Regions from separate parts of the Homo sapiens genome. Here region 1 is linked to region 2. Evidence: promoter capture Hi-C in human tissues and cell types (Jung and others, 2019). All regions are on one chromosome and are shown on one strand. The core of a region is centred on a gene start or on the middle of the fragment in contact, and the rest is flanking DNA. Distances in the headings are between cores, read along the strand shown.

The links. Contacts are between HindIII fragments. The study calls those that stand out against the background at their distance.
Region 1: a contact is called between the fragment with the promoter of CAPN7 here and the fragment with the promoter of MRPS25 in region 2, in 1 of the 25 tissues and cell types used here (thymus).

What each region holds. Positions count from the first base shown.
Region 1 is chr3:15,204,996-15,211,862 of GRCh38, forward strand. It overlaps CAPN7 (calpain 7), which reads left to right and starts at 1,251. Exons shown (of 21, transcript NM_014296.3): 1 at 1,251-1,602. The coding sequence starts at 1,501. It also overlaps the pseudogene COL6A4P1. RefSeq lists a silencer at 957-1,476. The HindIII fragment of the contact is 9,772 bases long and covers 1-6,867 here.
Region 2 is chr3:15,062,803-15,068,820 of GRCh38, forward strand. MRPS25 (mitochondrial ribosomal protein S25) reads right to left here and starts at 2,513. Exons shown (of 4, transcript NM_022497.5): 1 at 2,259-2,513. The coding sequence starts at 2,392. RefSeq lists an enhancer at 2,493-2,672. The HindIII fragment of the contact is 13,424 bases long and covers 1-6,018 here.

The DNA of each region.
Region 1 (6,867 bases), core at 1-2,500, 140 kb after region 2:
CACATTAGATATATTTAAGTAGTGGAGTTGACTCATTCAACATTTTAAAATATTTGTTGAACACCTGCTCTGGAACAAGGCTTGCGCTCAACGCTGGGATCAAAGTGGTAAAGACAGGAAGCATCCCTGCTTCAGCTATAAAACTGTAGTTGCTACCTTTGAGAGCCATCTTTGGGCCAGGCACAAAATCAAATTCTGTGTGTCTTTATAACAGCCTGATGAGACCGTTGTTATTAAGAACTTCACTAAATGTGAAGAAATACACTTAAACTAAGAAATTAGAGTCCCATTTTAAATGCAGGCCAAATGACTGAAAAAAAATTTAGAGTATAATTAAAAAATTAAAAGTACACACTTAAAATGTAGTTTGATAAGTTTTGACAAACGTATATATTTTTACACCACCATTGAGATATAAAACATTCTCATCATCCGAAAAGATTCCTTTGTATCCCCTTCCCAACCACTGATCTGCTTTCTAACATCGTAGTGTTTTCTAGTGTTTCTTATAGATGGAATTATACATTATGTACTCAATTCTTACTTCTTTGACTCAGCATGAATTTGGTGGTGCCCATCACTAATTCATTTTTATTACTGCTGACTTCAGACCTTTAGGGGAGAGAAGACATAAATCAAATAATCACCTAATTAAGTATTTAATTACAACAGCATCAAGTTAACCTAAGGGTAAGTACAAGTGGAAATACATTACCTTGTTTGTTAACAATTCAATCAATACGACCTTGGTGTACAGTGGGGGGCTATAGGGTCATGATTCAGCTTGTGGAAAACAAATGAAAATAAATGTTAGCGAAGAGTGACTCTAAAGAACCTCTGTCCTCACGGTAATTTTTTTAATGTGTCAGATGCTGGTGGGAGGCATTCTTCCTTAGCTCTTTACTCCCATCCCTTACACTTAACAGAGGAAAGGATCTGTAAGGCGCGTACCCCTCTACTGCCCACTGTCGACGAAAACAGCCTCGCCCTGCACCGCCACCGCCACGCATAAGGCGGTGTGTGGGCAGCTCGGACGTGGCACCTGCCCTCAGCTGCTCAATCCCGGGCGCCGCGACGGTCACGTGCACAGCGGCAGGCCTTTTTGCCCCGCCCCCGCGGCCCGGCTCCTGCGTGGGCCCGGCCCCGCCCACAGCCCGCGCAGTCCCGCGAGCCTGGCCTCGGCGGCCCCAGCTTCTAAGGAGCTCGTGAGGGCCAGGCTGCGCCTGCGTCGGGCGGCTGGTGGGCGGGGCGAGGGCCGCTGGGGCCGCGAAGTGGGGCGGCCGGGTGGGCTACAAGCCGGGTCTGGGCTGAGGGGCGCGGCTTCGCGGTGGACCCCAGCCCGGCAACGGGAAGGCGAGCTCTCCTCCACCGTCCAAAGTAAACTTTGCCGCTCCTTCCGCGGCGCTCCCGAGTCCTCGCCGCCGCCGGGCCGCCGCAGTCCGCGAAGAGCCGTCCTGCGTCAGGGCCTCCTTCCCTGCCCCGGCGCGGGGCCACTGCGCCATGGACGCCACAGCACTGGAGCGGGACGCTGTGCAGTTCGCCCGTCTGGCGGTTCAGCGCGACCACGAAGGCCGCTACTCCGAGGCGGTGTTTTATTACAAGGTAGGGCCGGGCCCGGCGCTTCGGTCGGAGTTGCTCAGTCGGAGTGCGGCCCGGGCCTGCGGCCGAGGGGCGGGATCCGGGTGCGGAGGCTAGCGGCCCCGGCTTTGCTTTTCCCTCGTCCGCCTCCCGGCCCTCCTCTTGTTGGGAGCGGCAAGCCCGAGTGCAGAGGCCGACGCTGAGGCTGCGGGGAGGCTGGGTCGCGGCTTGCAGCCGCCGCTCCTCCACCTGTAGTCCTGACTGGCAAATGCCCACCGTTGAGCCGCTTTGGGGGGCAGGTGTTAGATATGGGTAGTTAGTAGCCAATTCTTGCTGTCACTTGACTCTGATTTACAGCTAGCGGGAAATGGCCTGTGATATATATCAAAATAATGCATGCTCGTTAAATAAACTTAAAAAGAATAAAAACCATCTCCTGTCATAGCATTTGACATACAGTCATGCGTCCTTAGCGATGTGATATTTTCTGAGAAATGTGTTCTTAGGCCATTTTGTTGTTGTGCGAACACCGTAGAAAGCGCTTACACAAGCCTGAATGGTACAGCCTGTTCCACACCTAAGCTGTATGGCATGGCCTGTTGCTCCTAGGTTACAGGCCTGCGCAGCGTGTTGCTGTACTCAGTGGTGTGTGCAGTTACATGCAGTGGTAAGTATTTGTGCATCTAAACATAGAAAAGGTACAGTAAACATGCAGCATAAAAGATAAAAAAAAAATACTACACCAGTGTGGGGCACTTACCCACAAAAGGAGCTTGCAGGACTGGAAGTTGCTCTGAGTTGGTGAGTAGTGGTGAGTGAATGTGAAGGCCTGGGACATTCACTGCTCTACTCTTGTAGACTTTATAAGCAGTGTACCCTTAGGCTACGCTAAATTTTTTTAATCTTTCTTCAGTAATAAACTAACCTTAGCTTACGGTAACCCTTTTACTTTATAAACTTCTAAATTTTCTTAACTTTTTAACTCTTTTGTAATAGCTTAAAACGAACTTATTGTGCAGTTACACAAACATTTTCTTTATATCTTTATTTGGTAAGTTTTTTTGTTTCTTTTTTTTTTTTTATTCTTTAGTTAAAAACTAAGGCACACGTTAGCCTAGGCCTACACCTCGTCAGGATCATCAATATTACTGTCTTCCACCTCCAATCTTGTCCCACTGGGAGGTCTTCAGGAGCAATAACAGGAATGAAACTGTCGTCTCCTATGATAACAATGTCTCTTGAAATATCTCCTGAAGGACATGTCAGAGACTGTTTTATAGTTAACTTTTTTTTATAAAAGGAGTATACTAACAGTACATAGTATAGCATAGTAAATACATAAACCAGTAACATAGTTGTTGATTATCAAGTATTATGTACTCTACATTATTGTGTGTGGTAGACTTTTACACCACTGGCACCCCAGTAGGTTTGTTTACATCAGCATCACCACAAACATGCGAGTAAAGTGTTGTGCTATGACATTATGATGGCTATGACATGACCAGGCAATAGGAATTTTTCAACTCCATTATAATCTTAGGGGACCACTATCATATATTCAGTCTGTTGTTGACTGAAATGTTATGTGGTGTGTGACTATATTTTTGTGTTTTTTTATGCGTATGTGTATATGCTTTTTTTTTTTTTTTACAAACTGGTTTATACTGTTTTTAGTAATAGCTGCACAGTAGTTCATTATGTGGGTGTACCATATTTTTTTTTTTAAGAGACAGCGTCTTGCCCTGTCACTCAGCCTGGAGTGCCGTGGCCCACTAATAATAGCTCATTGCAGCCTCAAACTGCAAAGCTCAAGCAATCCTCCTGCCTCAGTCTCCCAATTGGTGGGACTACAGGTAGACACAACCACACTTGGCTAATTTTTTTTTTTTTTTTTTTTTTGTGTAGAAATGGAGTCTCGCTGTGTTGCCCAGGCTGGTTTCGAACTCCTGGGTCAAGCGATCTTCCTGCCTCAGTCTCCCAAAATGCTGGAATTACAGGCGTGAGCCTCTGTGCCTGTCCAGTGTACTATAATTAATTTACAGACTCTTGGGCATTCAGTTGATTTTGTTTTTTCAACATCATAAGTAACGATGTAGTTCATATCTTTATAACTAATTCTTATGACTAGTGCAAATTTTTGCCTGAATTTTCTTTGGGATAAATTACCGGGGACAGAATTGATAAATCAAAGGGTATGAGCTTCCATGGTCCACTCTCTTCTCTCCAATTCTGAGGATTTGCAAATATACCCCTCTAGCTCTAGCTAGATTTGGAGGGAGCTGTGTCCTCATGATAGTGTCACCTTTTCTTTTAGAAAGATTATCAGACTTTGATAATACTGTACAATAGTAGTACTTTTTTTCACAAATGTATGTGCTGTCAATAAAGTGTGGTTTGTTTCAGATTAATATTTTGTTGCTTTCATTTTATAATCTTTTTTCCTTTTTTTTTGAGACGGAGTTTTGTTCTTGTTGCTCAGGCTGGAGTGCAATAGCACAATCTCGACTCGCTGCAACCTCCACCTCGTGGGTTCAAGTGATTCTCCTGCCTCAGCCTCCTGAGTAGCTGGGATTACAGGCATGCACCACCACCCCCGGCTAATTTTGTATTTTTAGTAGAGACCGGGTTTCTCCATGTTGGTCAGGCTGGTCTCAAACTCCCGACCTCAGGTGATCCACCTGCCTCGGCTTCCCAAAGTGCTGGGATTATAGGCATGAGCCACCGCCCCCAGCCTATTTTTTTCTTTTTTTATTGATAGGTAATGTACATAGTTTCAGGGTACATGTGATAATTTAATACATTAATATAATTTGTAAAGATAAATCAGCATACTTGGGATAGCCATCACCTTAACTACTTCACAGCTGAACTGTGCAGCTTTTATTACTGAATATTATTCCCTTAATATTTATGCTAGGAACATTTGAATTAATCTAGCTATTTTGAAATGTACAATCAAATATTATAAACTCTGGTCACCCTGTGATCTATCTTAACAGTAGGTCTCATTCTATTATAATCTGCTTTATGTTTAGAGAGTTTTGGTGCATTTCAGAATCCTTTTAGACTTTTTTGACAATTTCACAAGGCATTGTTTAAGAGAAAAATTGTGTGTGTTTTGTGAAATAGCTTTGACAACAGGTTAAAATAGTGCTATATAAAAATAGATTTTATTAAAGCAAAAGAAACTGCTATGCACTGCCCCTTGTTTCCTATAGACTTACATACATGTCAGGAAGAATTTTTTATCTTTGAGAAAGCCAAAAAAAGTGGTTGTACTTCTAGAAATTATTTATATAAGCTTCATCAGTTTAGTATTTAGTGTTTTCTGCCCAGTCCTTTCTATAAGCTATTTATTTCTTGTCAGTTTTGAATATAAATGAAATGAGTAAAATAAAATTGACACCAGCAGTTTTTTAAATTGGCTTTATTTTATTTTTCAGAGACAGGGTCTCATTCTGTCACCCAGGCTGGCGGGCAGTGGTGAGATCATAACTCACTGCAGCCTCAAACTCCTGGGCTAAAACAATCTTCCAGCCTCAGCCTCCTGAGTAGCTGGGACTACAGGTGTGCACCACAATACCTGGCTAATTTTTTTTTTTTCCAGAAATGGGGATTTCACTATGTTGCCCAGTTAGTCTTGAACTCCTGGCCTCAAGCAGTCCTCCTGCCTCAGACTCCTAAGTAAAAAAAATAGCTTTTTTTAAAAAGTACAATAATTATTTGGAAATTAATAATCACATACAAGATAACTGAAGGGGCAATATATGTGTATTATATACTTATATAATTTACATGTATCAAAAACATTCCGTTTATTGGATTTAAGTGTAGTTACAATGTATTTAGATAATGATGGTATGTAAGATATATTTAATGTTTACATGTAAAGTTATACTTTCCTCCTCTGAAATAGTTATAGAATCTAAGGAAGTCATATCTTTTCTATCCCACTGCCTTTAGGCTGAATTTTCATTGTAGTCAAAACTGTACTTTTTCATTCCTTCCTTGCTTCCTTCCTTTTTTTTTTTTTTTTTGGACAGTATCTTACTCTGTCACCCAGGCTGGAGTGCAGTGGCCCGATCACAGCTCACTGCAGCCTCCACCTCCCAGGGCTCAGGTGATCCTCCCGCCTCAGCCTCCTGAGTAGCTGGGACTACTTTGTAGAGACAGGGTTTCACCATGTTGCCCAGGCTGAAAACTGCACTTTTCTTAATTTTGTTAGGTTCAGTGAAACAACTCCTGCTCAAACAACTGGATTCAAAAAGTGATGTTCAGTAGATGGCATCTTTGGAAACAGGCATGATGACCCATGAAGTGTACACGCTTGGGTTACTGCAGAGAAGGTGCTGTTACTTGTAGAAATCTGTCTTTGCTTTTCTAGGTGGTAGCATTGGTAACCTTCCTGGAATGGTGATGAGGAGAATGGAAACACCACCTTCTAGCCATAGCATAACTGGTCGTGGAAGTTATGGAATAACTGGAAGAAGAATCCAGATTTTCTTAAAATTAAAATAAGTGTAATTTATACAACTAAAATCTGCTTTAAAATGTGTCATCCTTTGTCAGTATTTTCTGTGGAGAAAACTGTTTTCCTTTTACTGTGAGATATTTAACCTGTGTAATCTCCTGTAATCTTTTCTTGATAATTTTATTTTAGCAATTATTACTCGTTTTAATGCTTTGAAGGCTCAATTCATATTTTTTTGCGTGTGAATTACTTGCAATCAGTTCACATTTTCAAGGTATATAATTTTAAATCTGATCTATTGCATAAGGAAAAAGGAAAACGAAACATGTAAACTGCAGCTATTCTAAAGAAGTGTTTATAATCAGTTCCTTATGCGTGAATTCATAAATTTTCAATGATATGTTAAAATTGAGAGAGAGCCTGGATAGCTCCTTCGGTAGAGCATCATCAGACTTTTAATGTGAGGGTCCAGGGTTCAAGTTCCTGTTTGGGCGTGTCCTGTGGCTTTTAGCACCTAATTCTGACTCTATCTTTGAAAAAGCCAAAAAAAAAAAAGTATGATTTGGGCCAGGTGTGGTGGCTCATGCCTGTAATCCCAGCACTTTGGGAGGCCGAGGTGGGCAGATCACTTGAGGCCAGGAGTTCAAGACCAGCCTGGCCAACATGGCAGAACCCAATCTCTACTAAAAATACAAAAATTAACCAGGTATGGTGGTGTACACCTATAGTCCCAGCTACTCGGGAGGCTGAGGCCCAAGAATCACTTGAACCTGGGGAGGTTGAGCTGAGCTGAGATCACACCACTGCACTCCAGC
Region 2 (6,018 bases), core at 1,263-3,762:
TCCACTCAGGGTTAAATGGATTAAGGGCGGTACAAGATGTGCTTTGTTAAACAGATGCTTGAAAGCAGCATGCTCGTTAAGAGTCATCACCACTCCCTAATCTCAAGTACCCAGGGACACAAACACTCTGCCTAGGAAAACCAGAGACCTTTGTTCACTTGTTTATCTGCTGACCTTCCCTCCACTATTGTCCTATGACCCTGCCAAATCCCCCTCTGCGAGAAACACCCAAGAATGATCAATTGAAAAAAAAAAAAAAAGAAAGTTAATAATGGCAGGAACCTTGAGTTGAGCAACTGCTGTATATGCCAGACACTTTGCTAGGCACCTGACTCTCCAACCCCAGAAGGTGGGGTTTTACAATTTAAGGAAACTAAGGTCAGAAGTTAAGTAAACTGCCCCAGGTCTAACTGGGCTGATTAGTCTGGCCTTCGATCACACTGTTCTGTCACCATCAAATTCACCCTGAGGCTTGGGGACCACTTGTTCAGGGTAGAACACCTGGCAGAGGTGAGTAAGGACTTGGCCCTCAAATACTAAATAAGGCACCTTCCCATTGCCCCCAGCAGGTACCCAAAGACTGGCTGGACCGGTCGCAGGCACTTGGGATGGAGGTAGGTCCCAGTGGGGCAGCTGAAGGGCTGAGGGCACATGAACAAACAAGGGCTGGGGATTGGGGGAGGACTGCGGCTAGCCAGAGCAAGGCAGACAGACTCCAACCCACGGGTACAAGATCACAGAGGGCACAGGTGGCACAGGCCAGCCCCTACCACCAGGAACAAAGAAACAGTGAATGGCTGTTTGTATCCCATTTACCTAGAGGACATTAAAATATCTGAGAATGTAAGTAAGAGGCTCACAGGCTTATTTTGATTGGCTGGCCATTTAAAAGCCAGAGATTTACATAAAAACCTAGATTTCAGCTTCTTGACAAATGAGAAATTCTCCACGGAGCCCACAATGCCAAACAGTGAAGGGCCCTCTGGATAGGGCATGTGCTCTCCAGCTCGCTGCGGGCCGCACCGAGACCCCCACCCCTTCCCATTATCTGCCTGGCAGTTGCCCGGGGACAAAGGTGTGCACAGTTGTGCAGTAGGTTATGAAGGAGTATCTGGGTGCCCATACACCCTAAGACCAAGACCAAGTCTTCCAGGAAGCCATCAAGCCAGCTGATTCCAGGCAAGCAGGTCCAAGTTATCAGATTCACCTGCGCAGAGCAAATGGCTAGGAAGCGGCTTCCGGATCTCTTGAAGGGCCATGCAGTGAAGGTCCGTCACCAAGGGGACCATGCCCCACAAGAAGTTGCTCCCCGCCCCCACGCCTCATTTTGATCCAACATACACCCAAGTCCCAAAGTTTCTGCGGGCTAAGGCTGCCTCCTCCATCACTGCTGAACTCCCAGCACACAGCACACAGCCTAGCACTCAGAGTGTACTCAATAAATGTAGACTTCATACCTGCAGAGCCTAAGGCACTGCTTAGGGCTGCCTCAGGGTCAATCCAAACCTTTCACTTGCCAACTGCCATTCAATGAGTCCCTACTCTGCTCCAAGCTGAAAGACATCCTAGGCGTTCCCTACAGTTCCTTCTAGTCGGGGTAGGGTCTGCCGCTGCACAGCTGACATAATTAATCACTTCCTTCCAAACCTTGAGTCCCGAAGGAAGCGGCCACACTGCCCGGCTCACCGCTCACCGGCTGGCATGGTGTCTCGTGGAGCTGCAAGTTACTTAACCTCTCTGTGCGCTTCCCCAGCCTTAGAGTGGGGATAAGCTGGGGTTTCTCTAGGCATCAGAAAAAAGAAAGCGCGAGAAGCATTCAGAACTGTGCGAGATATGATCAGTGTTCGCCGCTGTTATTTCTCTCATTTTATCCTCAGATTCGTCCTGGGGTGTCACCCCCGTCACCCCGAAAGGATCTGCGGCTGCCCCTCCCCAGCGCTTGCCTTGCTGGCCAGAGGGGCCAAGGGAACTGGTGGCCTCCCTCGGGTCAGCCTCGCCCACCGCGCCGGAGGAAGGAGATCCAGGAGTGGGGTTCTTGTCCTCCGCCCCCCAAACCTCGTCACGACTGCAGCCGGCCCGGCGGGGGCCCCGCCGTCCGCCTCAGTCTGGACCTCTGTAAAATGGGGGTAACAGCGCCGACCTGGGGGGCCCGCCCCGGGGATGAACGGCCGCCCAGAGCGACTCGGGACCTCACGTTACCAGCAGGCTGGCACGACTAGCAGGTTACGGCTCGCCAGGCGGCCGGGGCTGCGACTGACCTGGCGCCCTCGCCCAGCTCCCCATGCGTGTTGTAATTCACTGTCATGACCTTCACGGAGTCCTTGAACACCACGTTCCCCTGGCTCAGATATTGCAGGGTGCGGCGGATGGGGAAGCGGCCCTTCATGGGCATGGCGGCAACGGTGGCGGGGCCGACCCCACGGGCCGCGAGCCGAGCAGCGACGAGAAAGGACTAGCTAGCACCCGCGCGGATCTCACGCGGCTTCTCCCCAGAGCCAGGTTCCACTTCCCGCGCAGACGCACAGGAGACGCTTCCCGGCGGGCAGCGCACGCCGCGGAGCACTCTGGGACTTGTAGGCGGCCTTCGACCCGGCGCGGCGAGAACCGGTGTGTGCAGCTTCGCTTTAGGACGCCTTCCCCTTGGAAGGTTTAGGTTGTCGCGTCCTGTAAATTAGTCATTTCCCCATCCACCCACGGGAAAATATTTTTACATAGGCTAAAAGTCAGACATTGCAATAAGAAATAATCAGGAAAGCTCAGTTTGGATACCAAGTCAGCTGATAACGTCCTATTGAACGTATTGTCCATTTTTCTCCCCAAACATCTCCAGTTTTATCATGAAGAGTTCAAACTGCACTTTCTGACGTTGACTTAAACTTCTTAGCAAAAGAAAAAAAGATGGTTTGGGATCAATTCCTTCCTAAATTCAGCCACTTAACTCAGGACCTCAATTTTTTCGTAAACAAACTATGGGTGAGATGTATTTCTAGGGCCAGGCGCGGTGGCTCCCGCCTGTAAACCCAGCCTTTGGGGAAGCCGAGGCGGAAGGATCGCTTGAGGTCAGGAATTCGAGACCAGCCTGCCCAACATGGCGAAACCCCGTCTCTACTGAAAATACAAAAATTAGCCTGGTGTGGTGGCAGCACCTGTGGTCCCAGCTACTCAGAAGACTGAGGTGGGAGGATCGCTCGAACCCGGGAAGTTGCAGTGAGCCGAGATCGCGCCACTGCACTCCAGCCTGGGCGACAGAGCAAGACTCCCTCTCAAAAAAAAAAAAGATACATTTCTGAAGTACTCTTGATCTGAAAGGTATTTCTCCTTCTCTTTTGAAGAGTGATTTTGCCAGATTTAGAATTCTAGGTTAGTGTTTTTCCTTTCCCTCCCTCCCTTCTGGAGTGCAATGGTGCTATCTTGGCTCACCGCAACCTCCGCCTCCCAGGTTCAAGTGATTCTCCTGCCTCAGCCTCCCGAGTAGCCGGACTTACAGGCATGCGCCACTACACCCAGCTAATTTTGTATTGTCAGTAGAGACGGGGATTCTCCATGTTGGTCAGGCTGGTATCAAACTCCTGACCTCAGATGATCCGCCCGTCTCAGCTTCCCAAAGTGCTGGGATTACAGGCGTGAGCCACTGCGCCTGGCCCTGGTGTTTTTCTTTCAACAATTTAAATAGTTCACTCCACTCTTTTTTTGCTTGCATGGTTTCAAACAAGTAATTAAATGCAATTACATTTATAGGTATGATGGCTTTTTCCTTTAGCTTCTTTCAAATTTTCTCTTGGTGTTTGGTTTACGGGGTTAGAATAAGGTAATGCAGATCTGTAGATGTTTTGTATTTGTCCTGCTTGGAGTCCTCTGAGCCTCCTGGATCTGTGATTTCATGTCTGTCATTAATTTTGTAAAGTTCTTAGCCATTTATTAGTTCAGGTATTTATTCTTCACTCTTTTCTCTTTCTAGTATTCAAGTTAAATGCATTTTATGTCTTCTGGAATTGCCTCATAGTTCTCGAATGTTCTGGCGGGGTGATGGAGGTTCTCTTTGCATTTTAGTGGGGAAGTTTCTGTTGACCTATCTTCAAATTCATTTAATCTTTGGTTATGGACAGTCTACTGATAAGCCCATTAAGGCATTTTTCATTTAAGGTTTTAACTTCTAGCACTTCCTTTTGATTCTTAGGGTGTTTGTTTGTTTGTTTTGAGACAAAGTCTCTGTCACCCAGCCTGGAGTGCACTGGTGCAATCTCTGCTCACTGCAACCTCTACCTCCTGGGCTCAAGCAATTCTCCCACCTCTGCCACTTAGCTGGGACTACAGGTGCACACCACCATGCCTGGCTAATTTTTTTTTTTTTTTTTTTTGAGACGAAGTCTCGCTCTGTCACCCAGGCTGGAGTGCAATGGCACTATCTTGGCTCACTGCAACCTCTGCCTCCCAGGTTCAAATGATTCTCCTGCCTCAGCCTCCCAAGTGGCTGAGATTACAGGTGCCCACCACCACACCCAGCTAGTTTTTGTATTTTTAGTAGAGACAGGGTTTCACCATGTTGGCCAGGCTGGTCTTGAACTCCTGACCTCGTGATCCACCCGCATTGGCCTCCCAAAGTGCTGTGATTACAGTCATGAGCCACTGTGCCCAGTCTAATTTTTGTATTTTTAGTAGAGATGGGGTTTCACCTTGTTGGCCTGGCTGGTCTCAAACTCCTGACCTCAAGTGATCTGCCTGCCTCAGCCTCCCAAACTGCTGGGATTACAAGTGTGAACCACCACACCTCGCATGATTCTTAGTTTTCTTATGTCTGTTTACATTACCCATCTGTTCTTGTATGTTGTTTACTTTTACCATTAGACCCCTTAACAGACCACATTTTAAATTTCTTGTCTGATAATTCCAATATCTGAGTGTGATTCTGATGTTTGCTTTGTTTCATCTGATTGTTGGGTTTATTTTTTTCCTTGCCTTTTAGCATGCTTATAATTTTTTTGTTGAAGGTAGAATATCCACTCTATTGGGCCATAGGAACTGGGGTAAATAAGCCTCTAGAATGAGAACTTATGTTAATCTGGCTCAGAGTTGAGAGCTGTGTTTAATGTTTGCCATAGCTGTAGGTGTCAGAGGCTTCCAGTTCCTCTAGTGTCTTTGTGTTTATCTCCTCTTGCCTTTGGGCTTCCCTCGATATTCCTCCTGAGAGAGTCCGTGTCTTGCAGCTCTTCCAGGTATAATTCACTGTTACTATCCTGGAGTCCTGTTGATGTGGTGGAAAAACATGGGGGAGGTGAAGCATTCTATAATCTTACGATTAAATCTCAGCATTTTAGTGGGCTTGTGTCCTTGGGCTGTGACCTACACAAGTGTTCTTTCCTTTTTTTTTCTTTTTCTTTTTTTTTTTTTTTTTTGAGGCAGTGTCTTGCTCTATCACCCAGGCTAGAGCGCAGTACAGTGGCGCAATCACAGCTCACTGCAGCCTCTACTTCCCAGGCTCAAGCAATTCTCCCACCTCAGCCCCGAGTAGCTTGGACTATGGCATGTGCCACAATGCCTGGTTAATTTTTGTATTTTTTGTAAAGATGAGGTTTTGCTATATTGCCCAGACTGGTCTTGAACTCCCGGGCTCAAGCAATCTGCCCACCTTGGCCTCCCAAAGTGCTGGAATTACAGGCGTGAGCCACCGCACTGGCCCACAAGTGTTTCTTAGTTCCCCTTTGTACCCCCTTACATGACCCAGCCCTCCTCCAGATGGATAAGGCTCTGTGAAAAAGTGCTTTCCTCTGGGGAATAAGCTTTATTATGGAGAAGGCTCTGATTACAAAGATGATTCTCCCTTTCCCCTGCCAGAGTCACCAGAGGGTCTTCCTCAGCTCTTCACCAATAGAACCAAGTAGGGTAAAACCCAGGAAAGCGTTGGGGGTGAGGGGGAGTTGCTCCCTCCCATGCTAGTCCACACTCAACCTCCAGCAGTTCATCAAAATTACCATTTAAGTTTTCCTACTAGCTATGGCTCCCGTGGCTTCTGCTCCAGGC